Regions from separate parts of the Homo sapiens genome. Here region 2 is linked to region 1. Evidence: promoter capture Hi-C in 16 types of primary human blood cells and fetal thymus (Javierre and others, 2016). All regions are on one chromosome and are shown on one strand. Each heading gives the region's core, a stretch centred on a gene start or on the middle of the fragment in contact. The rest is flanking DNA. Distances are from core to core; before and after follow the strand shown.

Region 1 (5,612 bases), core at 1,293-3,792:
ACGTTATTCATTGTATTAACAAATTAAAGGGCAACAAACAGGTCATTAGATGATGGTTAACATTTGTTAAGTTTCAGTATCCACTTACAGGCGTGTGAGTGGATTTTATGAGAAAAATCTCTTAGCAAAGTAGGAATAGAAGATAATTTTGTTAACTTTCTTACATCATAAACACAAAGGTATTTAATGTTAGGGACAAGACAAGGATGCTTACCACTACTGTTTATTTTCAAAATTTTACTGGAGCACTTAAGCAACATAATCCAGGCAAAACAATAAGAAACAGAAGAAATAGAAATGAAGAAATTCATTATTTCCCAGGCCATATTGTTCTATACACAGAAAATCCAAGAAATTCTGCAAATACTTGAATTTAGAATACAGCAAGGTTGCTGGATACATGACCAATGTACATGAATCAGGATCATTCAGCAGCTAAGCATAGCTAGCATTTATTGACCGTTTGGTGCCAGGGACTGATGCAGTGCTTACATTATTTAATCATAAAAACAGCCCAGTAGGCATATTTGTCCTCATTTTAACAGACTGAACCTGTGGCTTGGAGCATTAAGTAACTTGCCAAACGTTATACAGGTAGTAAGTTAGGCAAGCCTGGTACTACAACCCAAATCTGTGTGACCCCAAAGCCCGTCATGGTTTTAACCACTGGGTACTCTCACGTCCTGCCAGTAATTGTAAGGAACGTGATGATAACACCACTTTGCTCCTGGCCTCAACTTCCTTTTTACTTTGATATTTTAAGTGGTATTTTTAATAGGAAAAAAAAAAAACATTCTTACACCCTCAAGTTGTATAGACAACATGGATAAACTAATGGAATTAAGATAAATTAATTGTACTAGGAGAATTTCAGGATATTCTGGAATAAATCTAGATAGTGATGGCCGATGTCAGAAGAGGTGTGTGAGGAGAACTGGTGGAAGTCACAGGCGCCCAGCAGGACCAGGGCCCAGGGTTCAGTCGCAGGGCAACGCCCAATCCCTGTTCTGCTCACGAGCTGCCCGCTGGGACGCCGAGTTCTGCGGTGTCTCAGAGCGCAGCTTCACCCAGGGGCTCCACGTCTCCTGAGTGCTCATGAAGGGAAGAGAGGCCTGATTGATTTCTTCAATGTAGAGACCAGAGCCCAAGCAATACTGTACAATCCAGTTGCCTCAGTATTGCCCTTGAAAATGGATTTCACGTTCATTCTAACAGCAGCAGGAACTATAGCCACCCTTGCTGCTGCTGCTGCTGTAGCAACATTATTAATAGTAAAAAATCTAAGTTATTTAAAGAAGTGGACAACTAGGGATAATCAGAATACTAAAGAATCTAGTAAACAAAACAAACAAACAAAAAAACACGCCTGTTTTCAAGATGGATACCAAAATGGAACAGGAAAACACACAAAGAATTGGATGAGAAGGAACAGAGACTAGATGAAGAGGACGGGGAGGAACAGGGAACAGACCAAGGACTGGCAGAGAAGGAACAGGGCACACACGTAAAAGTGAACGAAAAGCAACAAGACAGCCAAATTTCTTAAGTGTAACATAAAACTTGGTTAATTACAGACAGGCAACACATGCCGATCAAACCAAGAGGGAGGGCGCTGGACCACACTGGGCTCTTTTTTGAGGACCACAGGGCAGCGGCTGGAGGCTAAAGCACAGACTTGGCTGGTGTGAGTGGCACACTTAATTAAGGTCACTTTCCTGTAAAACTGGTTTCCAGAGACAAGGGTCAGCGGCGGGGCCAGCATCTTTTAGAAAGGTGTGAGGAAAGGTACGTGGAGGGAAAGTTGTCAGTGTGATCTTATTTCTTGACAGAAGTTTGACTTTTGATATTTCAAATCCTGCTGATGAAAAAAGAAAAAAACCTAACATGTGCTCATCCCGCTTTCGCACAAGAGTCTGTCCCGGGCTCGGCAGCTCCCCCGGGGCTGGACAGGGCGGAGCGGCGGACGTCGGACAATGCGCGCCACCTCACAGAGCCGGGCGCGGCGGGCCTCCAGCCACAAGGGGAGGGCGCCGGGCTGCACATGGGCCCCTCGGGGAGGCGAGGCCTGCGGGCGAGCCCTTCTGAGGGCAGGGGGTGAGGGGGCGGCGCCCGCCAGCCAGGACAGCATCCTGCCGCCGTGACAAGCACGCCTCCGGTTGCCAAAACAACCCAAAAATGTGCCTCAAAACACGTTCGCAAAGCCCCGGGCCGGCCGGTCGCCTGCCTCTCACCTAGCCCGACCGCCCGACGTCCTACTGCCGAGCGAGGGCGAGCAAGCCAATGTGCCTAGCCTCCTTTCCCCGATCCTCCCCGCCCCGCCTTCCCGCTTCTCCCGCCCCCGGATAGCTCAGCAGCCTCCATTTTCCAGATCTTTCTCGAACCCGCAGCTTCTTGGGCAGCCGTTGCCCGAGTGCTGACGGAAGCGGCCGAAGTCCGGGCCCGGAGCTGGCTCGGGCGCGGAGCGGAGGCTCGCGCGCCTCCCGGGCAGCCGAGCGCGCAGGCGCAGGTCCCAGTAACCGCCGGTTGGAGGCGGCCGAACCGCAGTAGGGAAAGACCCAGGCTGCGGGACGCGGTGCAGGCTGCGGCGCTGACGGCCTCTGCTCCTTCCGCGGGTTTCCGACTCCCTGCCCTAGATTTTCTGCTTAGCGACTTGGGGTCCCCTCTCGTTTGCTTCTGGTAGGAGTCGCAATCCCAGCAGCAATAGCCCAGAAGAGGACACGGTTCCCGTACCGAAGGGTTCAGTACCAGCAGCCCGACCATCACGCGGCGGGATGTCTGTGGTTGGCATTGACCTCGGCTTTCTCAACTGCTACATTGCTGTCGCGAGAAGTGGCGGCATCGAGACCATCGCCAATGAGTACAGCGACAGGTGTACCCCGTAAGTGCCTCTGCTGAGCATCACCTCGACCCTAAGAAACGTTTTTCTCTCCCGTCCTTAACGTTTGTCCTGTCTGCTCGCTTCCTCGGATTTTCCCCTAACGTGCGCCGAACCCCGAGATGACAGGTGCAACCCGTCAACCGCAGTCCCTAGAGACCGCCGGGTGGCAGTCGGACTTCCTCGCCCCGCAAAGCTTCTTTTCCTTCAAGGACGAGGGACCGCACTAGTTTGCGCAGCTCTCTTTTCTGTACCTACGCACGTCCCCTGCCTCGTGCCGCTGTCCCCCAACGCCTCTTTTGCTTGCGAGGAAGAGGTTGCTGTGGGACAGCCCCTGGCGTCCGGAATATTGAGAAAGATCTCCGGTTGCCTCTAACGAGGTTTACGTGGGATTATCGGCCCCGCGCCAGCTGCCCTCCTTCCTTTCCCCGTCCCTCTGGGTGACAGCTTTTTCTCAGAAAAGTAAAAAGTCAGCTTCGGCTGCACACGTCAGAGATGAATTGCAGGTTCATCTGGCCCCGAAAGCCTTTTTTTTTTTTTTAAGGGCGGGGAGTGAGGCATGTGGGGTTTTACAAAACCCAGTGCCCTTGAGAACTGCAGGTAATGGAGCCGGTTTACAGGGCCAGGTCAATGGTGCATTGATAGGGAGAGCCTCGGGATGGGAGTCACTGGCCTTGTGCATTGGTAACTACGTCAGTTGCTGGAATGCGGCGGGGTTGGGTCGGACCAAAAGCGTGTTTCTGCAGAGTGAATTGCCGGAGTCGGGGGCAGCTGTCCCGTATAAACATGACTGTGGAGTGATTCTATTATGAACGCTTAATGAAAGGCTTAGGAGGAGCGGCGTTATGTCATGGAAACATGTTTCCACATGTTCCGTTGTTTCTCTGGCCTGGGAAGTTTGTTGGCAAGGAATATAATGAAGTAATTCTGAAATATGAAAAACTAGTTGCTGCTTATAGGCTGCTGTTACTGGTAATTTTATGAGGAAACCAACTGTATGAAACCTATATTACTTTTTATGGAAAGGTAATTTGGCATCTTAATTTGACCGTTCTGAATGGTCCAAAATATAATACCTTAACTATACTAAAACAAGGTCAGTGTCCAATGGTCTTTAAATGCCTCATTTACTATTCTATGGAAAGCTTTAAAATATGGCAAAAAGATGTTGAAGAGTAGCTCACTTGAAGCAGTCTGTGCTTTGATTTCTTTCCAAGAAGATTCTAGAAGGTTTTATACCTTTTTTCGTAGATGTACACGTTTCTTCTATTGAAATTTTAAACGTTTTGGACGTTTATATTTTCAATACATGGGCATAGATAAGGTAATCCTCAATAATGTTTGAACTCTTCTACTTTTTACATCTTTTTCTGGCTTTTATGCACAGTGAGAGGCCGAAACAGTAACTGTGAAGTCGATGAATTCGTCTCTACAAGGTTTTATATTAAGCCACAACAAATACTGGCTTTCGCCAGAAACAGACCGGAAATTCCACTCTCCACCTTCAGCAGAGTAGGGGTTAAAAATGGGAGCAATCTTTGGCTTCATTGACTCTCAACCTATAGAGAAAAAACTGAGAGGTAGGGTGGACATTCTTTTAGTCCTTAAAGCCATATCCTAAAAGATCAGAAACCAGAACAGTAAGAAAGATCGATCTGCATTTCCAGGCTGAGAAATCTCTTTAGCAGTGAGTGAACCTGTGATTCTTTAAAGATCCTGGCCGGCCAGACTTAGTTCTTTAAAAAGTGGGCTTCTAGAGTCTTCTAAAAGTCTCTTTGTTATTGTACTTAGGCATATTCGCTGGTTCTGTGTGGTTGAGAAGTAATGTGATATTTCTGATTTGTGTGCTAGAAAGCCAATAGTAATATCTAGATTTAATGAGCCTAATCTAAACTAGAAAGTTCTTAAAAAGTGAAAGGATATTCTCACTTAGCTTGCATCAGCAACTCTTCTCTCCATGGCTGGGCACTGTCACTTACCTCAGAAGTGTATCTTTTGTTGTTTCTGAACAAAAGTACTTCATGGTAGTGTAGTGCTCTTACACTATGTATTACTTTGTGGGTCCAATTGTTGAGGAAAAACATAGCCCTTCCGGGCCTCAGGACATTTATCCATCAATTCAACACCGATCATGCAAAAAGCATTGTAACTATTAGATAACCTTTAACTTCTCTAATACACCACAGTATTTAATAACACACATAAATAAAATGTTAGCTTTGCAAATAAAATGTTTTTCATATTCCAATTGCTTACATCAAGGTAATGTGACATATTTTCTAAGATGTGAATACATTATAAAATGATCCTATGAAAAGAGGAAAGAAATGTTCAATTTAGTTGTTTTCAGCATTCATACATTTTACGTTTCTTTCATTAACATATTTGATTGCTTATGGTTGAGAGGATTCCATATAAACCAAGAAGGACAGTTTAATGAAAAAGAACCAAGTTTTGGCCTATAATTAAGGGACAAAAGACAAGTTAATTTAACCTATTTAATTCAGATTCACCTTCTGTAAAGTTAGAGTGTTTATACTAGCCTCTCATCTCCTGCATAAGTTGAAGAGGGAGAGAGAAATTAACCTGCATAAATTGAAGAGACAAAATAATTTTCCTGAACATCTTATTGAAAAATTATTACATAATAATATGTGCTCATTATAAAAAATACTGGCACATTAAAAGGTGAAATTAAAAATTTAATTCCTCCAGATGGTTTTCTGTGTGTGTTTTC
Region 2 (5,534 bases), core at 565-3,064, 1.3 Mb after region 1:
TGGCTATAACTGATGAGTGGTATTTACATAAAGTGAATATCTCAGGTGAAAACTTTTATGTCTGCACTCGAATTTTTTAGCTTACATGATCATAATTATGATCATGATAGTTTTTTGTTTTTGCGTTTGTGTTTGTGGTTACAAGATTTTAGTAGTTGAATTTTAATGGAGTATTTTCAACATAAGTTTCATCATTAGGAAACAAAATTGTGATGATTTCACTTATCCTTAAAGGATCCCCTCTCATGTTCCTCCTTTTCACATCTCCTGAGTTCTTTATCCACTTCTCCCAAGGTAGGTGCCACCTTAGTACTTACTTCATGCTCCTTCCTGCATTATCTGTCATGTTTTGTAGTTTGTCTCCAGGCTCCATCATAATACCTGGAACACAGAGTTGATTAAATATCTGATGGAAGGAATGAAAGAATTCAGTGGATGTTCATGAAAAGTATCTATTAGTATAAATTGAATACAAGGAATGACAAGCAGAAATGTATGTAGTTTGTGTGTAACTCTTGTCAAGCCACCATTTAATGTTTTTATATGACTTTTCTGCAATAAAGAAAACCCCTAAAGTTGTATAGATTGAAAATTAGTGACATTTCACTAACATTCATTTGGTTGATCAATTGACATTGAGCACCCAGTACTATGTGCAAAGTACCAGGAAGAATACAAAGTTAGAAGTTTAAGCAAGGATCAGAACAGATCACACAGCTGGCAAGTGCCTGAGTTGAGATTTGAACCCAGGCAGTATGGTTCTAATTTCACAATTGTTAACTGCTATGAACATGCCTCCCCAGGAATATAGTATAATATAGTTTATAGCTGGTATAATATAATTTATAGTTTTTGCTTATATGGCCAGTTAGCCTTTAGTTGTATTAAATGAAATATTTCTGTACATGTTATATTGTAATCTTAATGATTTACAGTTGATTTTCAAATTATTGCACAGTATTTATATTTCTGAATCACCCTTCCTTCTTCTAGGAAACCACTCATACTTTAGTGGAACGATTAGAAGTCTTCAGTTGTTCATGTGTGGCCCTTCAACATCTTTCTTTCCTAGAAAAATCAAGCGTCTTAGCTTCAGTGTTCTAAGCCCCTCCCCCAGAACGTGTAGGCAGCTGGGTGGAGCCTAAAGCCGAGCCCTCTCCTGTGACCTCGGCTGAAAAGAAGAAGCCAGTGTTTGAGAAAAGCTTCGTGGTCTGTGTTCTCTAGTTGTTCCCTCTTCTCTCTGACATTCCTTTCGTCGTCGCCAGGTCTTGTTTTTCGCTTGATCTCTGGAAAATACTGAAAAGTATTTTACTTTTCAGCTGTCTCCTGCTAAGTGAGCGTACTCCCCCTTTCAGGCTGACTTCCTCATTTCTCCGTTTCCCTGATAAATGGGCGGGGCCTCGGGGAGGTATGGAAACTGAAAAGAAATCATTATTGTAGAAAAACTAAAGAAATTTTTGTTGAGCAGAGGAATTTGGAAATTTTCCTTGCAGATCATTTGGTTGAGAAAACACCTTTACCATAACTTATTTCTTTTAAACTTTGCGGACATTTTTTCTTTTCCTGGGTTCTTAATGCTCCAGTGTTCGGTCTCCTTTCTCTTCCTTCGTTTCCTTTTAGAGGTCTTTCCAGGTAAAGATAAAGCAATCAGAACAATTGAAAATTTATTTTTTTAACTTGTTTTAAGAGCAATTTGAAGAATAGAGGTTAAAAGTAGAAACATACAGAGTAACAATAAATATTGTATTAAGAAAGTCTAAACAGCCAAACTTAAAATTGCATTGCAGGACAGTAATCATCTTGATAATATGCATTATGACTTTTCGGAAACGTTCAGCATATATAATATAAAGGGGAGAAGAGGCAGCCACCATACTCTTTTTAAGAGAACCGGCCTTAAATTAGACTTAAAATATATATATTTTTTTGAGACGGAGTCTTGCTCTGTTGCCAGGCTGGAGTGCAGTGGAGCGATCTCTGCTCACTGCAACCTCCGCCTCCGGGTTCAAGCGATTCTTCTGCCTCAACCTCCCGAGTAGCTGGAACTACAGGCGCGTGCCACCACGCCCAGCTAATTTTTGTATTTTTAGTAGAGACGGGGTTTCACCATGTTCGCCAGGATGGTCTCGATCTCCTGACCTTGTGATCCGCCTGCCTTGGCCTCCCAAAGTGCTGGGATTACAGGTGTGAGCCACCGCGCCCGGCCAAAAAATAATTTTAAACTGTTCAGTTACCTTAAAATAGTAATGCATGTCTGTCATAGTGTAAAATGCAGATAGGTTTTTAAAAAGTGATGAAGTTGAAAGGAAGCCTTCCTCCTTCCCATATCTGCAGGCAGATAATTCCCTTCAGGGAAGCAACCACTGTTACCACTCGTTTCTTGGATGTTTCCTGAGATAGTGTATGCCTCACAAGCATATATGCAAATAAGCTTCCTTTTTATTAAATAAATGCACCTTGCTTTTTTTCACTTCACAACATATTTTAGCATAGATGTTAATTCAGAGCTGCCTCATTCATTTTAGCAGTTATACAGTGTTTCATTGTATGGTATAGCATAATTTTTTTTACCAGTCCTCTACTGATGGGTATTTAAGTTGCTTCCAACATTTTGTTATTATGAACAATGCTACCACAAATATCCTCAACGCTTATGTCATTTTGAATATGTGCAGGTATAGTAACTCCTAGAACTAGACTTATTTTTGTCAAAGGATAGTTGCATTTTTATTTTGATAGATATTGACGTATTGCTCTTCACAGAGGCTATATCAATTATGCCTCACTAGCAATAAATGATTTTTTTCTCAATGCCTTCATTAACACAGCTTGTTGTCAGACTTTCTGATCCTTGCCAATCTAAGTGAAAAATGGTAATTTATTGTGGTTTTAGTTTGCATTTCTGTCATTATAAGTGAACATTTTGCATTTTCTCTCCGTGAACTGGCTGTTCATAATTTTTGGTCACTTTTCTGTTGGAGTGTTGGTCTTTTCCTTATTGATTTCTAGGAGCTCTTTGTGCATTAAAGAAATTAGTTATTTGTATCAAGTATGAATTGCATATACTTTTCCCCAGACTTTTGATTTTGTTAATGATAGGCTTTTGGAGTAAAGGGAACTTGGGAAGGAGGTTTTTGCTTTTTTACTATTATTTATCTATTATTAAAAAAATTCAACTTTTATTTTAGATCCAGGGTATATATGTGCGGGTTTGTCACATGGTTATATTGCATGATGCTGAGATTTGAGGTACGAATGATCCTATCACCTGGGTAGTGAGCATAGTACCCAGTAGTTAGTTTTTCAACCCTTGCCCCTTTCTTCCCTCCCCCCTCTAGTAGTCCCCAGTGTCTGTTGTTGCCATCTTTATGTCCATGAGTACCTACTGTTTAATTTCCACTTATAAGTGAAAATATGTGGTATTTGGTTTTCTGTACTTTCATGAATTTGCTTAGAATAATAGCCTCCAGCTGCATCCATGTTAGTTTTGCTATATTTATGTAGTAAAATGTTTGGGTTTTGGTTTGTATTTTAAAAGGTTTTCTCTACTAATGCAGGGAAAGCCCAGATTTGGGGCTCAGCCCAGGAGAGTTCTTGGCTTCATGCAGGAAAGGATTCACAAGCTAAAGCAAGTTTATCAGAGCAACAAACTACAGGAAAATGGCTGCTCCATAGACAGAGTAGGAGCAGCAGCTCCCATGAATTGTTGGCCAGCTGTATACATACAATTCCCTGGTTATATGCTAAATAAGGGGTGGGTTATTCATGCATTTTCCAGAAAAGTAGGAAGGGTTCCCAGAACTGAGAGTTCCTCCCTTTTTTAAACCATATAAGGTAACTTCTAGGAGTTGCCATGGCATTTGTAAACTGTCATGCCACTGTTGGGAGTTTTTTTTTGCATGCTACTGCATTATAATTAATGTATAATGAGCAGTGAGGGCAACTAGAGATCACTTTTGTTGCCATCTTGGTTTTAGCTGGTTGTGGCCAGTTTCTTTGCTGCATCTTGTTTTGATAAGATTCTGTTTCAATCAGTGGGACCTTGGTGCTCAGAAAACAAGCCCAGCTCATCTCCTACCTTACTACTATAAGATTTTATTTAACTCTCTTTTTATTTCCTGTTTTTATATGATTTTGATTTTTATGTTTAAATCTTTGATTCATCTAAAACTTACTTTGGTATAAGGATCCCACTGAATTAAATTGGACTGCAAAATGAACCAACTGATGTTGGAAACGGGTACCTCATTGATTAGTTACATGAGAACCATCCCAAACTCCTGTAGACTTATTATATATTATTTCCCCAGCACCTGGTATGGTACCTGAAATAAGATGAGTGCTTAATAAATGCTTGATAAACTAAATTGAAGGGAATTTCTGGGCTTATTATCTTTGTTATTAGCCATTGTATTGATCTGATATGTAGTGTTAAATGAGATGATGATACCACGAACACAGTAGATTTCTCCTGCACAAAATCTAGAGTGTTAGATCCAGGGACTAGAAAAATTATTCACTCAACAAATAAATAGTAACCATCACTTATAGGCATTCTAGCTGGGTTCAGGGAGTCAATAAACAAATATGTAATGCCATGTAATTGCCATGTAAGAATAGAAATAGAGCAGTGTATAGGTTAATAGAGAATGACCAGGAGGGGAGCGCTAGCCCAAGAGGTGAAGGACATTGACAATTAAGTTGTCTTTACTTAATGAACACATGTTCAAATACAAAGAAATTGAAAGGTTGTGGGGGTTAAATCTCAGAAGATTACAGAGGGAGAATCATCTGTCTCTAGTTTATGTTAGTTTTAAACTAGACTGTTAACTACTGGGCAGGACGGACTATACTTTTTAGGTTAATTTTTATAAATATTATGCATTCTTAGATTGACGTCAGTGTTCTTTAAGCGATATAAAGTTTAAAAAAAAAAACAAATTTGTCATTGCAATAAGAAACGAAAGTTGTTTATGCAATTAAAGCCAAAATTATATTCTGTCTTTGGACTGATCAGCCATGCACTATTCCCTACTTGTGGAAGTCTAGTCACTATTTTTTGCAGTAATTTTCAAATAATGCTCAAAGAAACCTTAGGGGGGAAAAGCAGAAGGAACCAGTAGAAAGGTTTGAGGTACTCACTACCTAATTCTTAACAATGGTAACTTTGCTTTTATCTTTTACTTCTTATCTTCCAGATAAAATTACATTTTGAAGTAATTTGAAACCTATGCAAGCTTGTCCAACCCAAGGCCCATGGACTACATGTGGCCCAGGACAGCTTAGAATGCAGCCCAACACAAATTCGTAAACATTATGGATTGTATTTTGATTTTTTTTTTTTTGGCTCATCAGCTATTGTTAGTGTTAGTGCATTTTATGTGTGGCCCAAGACACACATTCTTCTTCTTCCAATGTGGTCCAGGGAAGCCAAAATATTGGACACACCTGCTATAAAGTCTACCACACTCTGACCATGAGACCCACCATGTGTGCATGGAAATGATAGGCCACTTTTAGTAGCATATCACTGG

What was found. Contacts are between HindIII fragments. The CHiCAGO score rates a contact against its expected background, and 5 or more counts as called.
Region 2: a fragment that was not itself captured here is called in contact with the fragment with the promoter of HSPA4L in region 1 in 2 of 17 cell types (erythroblasts and fetal thymus); the score reaches 7.6 in erythroblasts.

The regions. Positions count from the first base shown.
Region 1 is chr4:127,779,780-127,785,391 of GRCh38, forward strand. It overlaps HSPA4L (heat shock protein family A (Hsp70) member 4 like), which reads left to right and starts at 2,543. Exons shown (of 19, transcript NM_014278.4): 1 at 2,543-2,878. The coding sequence starts at 2,772. RefSeq lists silencers at 1,904-2,073, 2,354-2,423 and enhancers at 2,564-2,713, 2,613-3,605, 3,214-3,293, 4,705-4,944. The HindIII fragment of the contact is 4,318 bases long and covers 1-3,069 here.
Region 2 is chr4:129,095,001-129,100,534 of GRCh38, forward strand. It overlaps C4orf33 (chromosome 4 open reading frame 33), which reads left to right and starts at 1,152. Exons shown (of 6, transcript NM_001099783.2): 1 at 1,152-1,209. The HindIII fragment of the contact is 1,229 bases long and covers 1,201-2,429 here.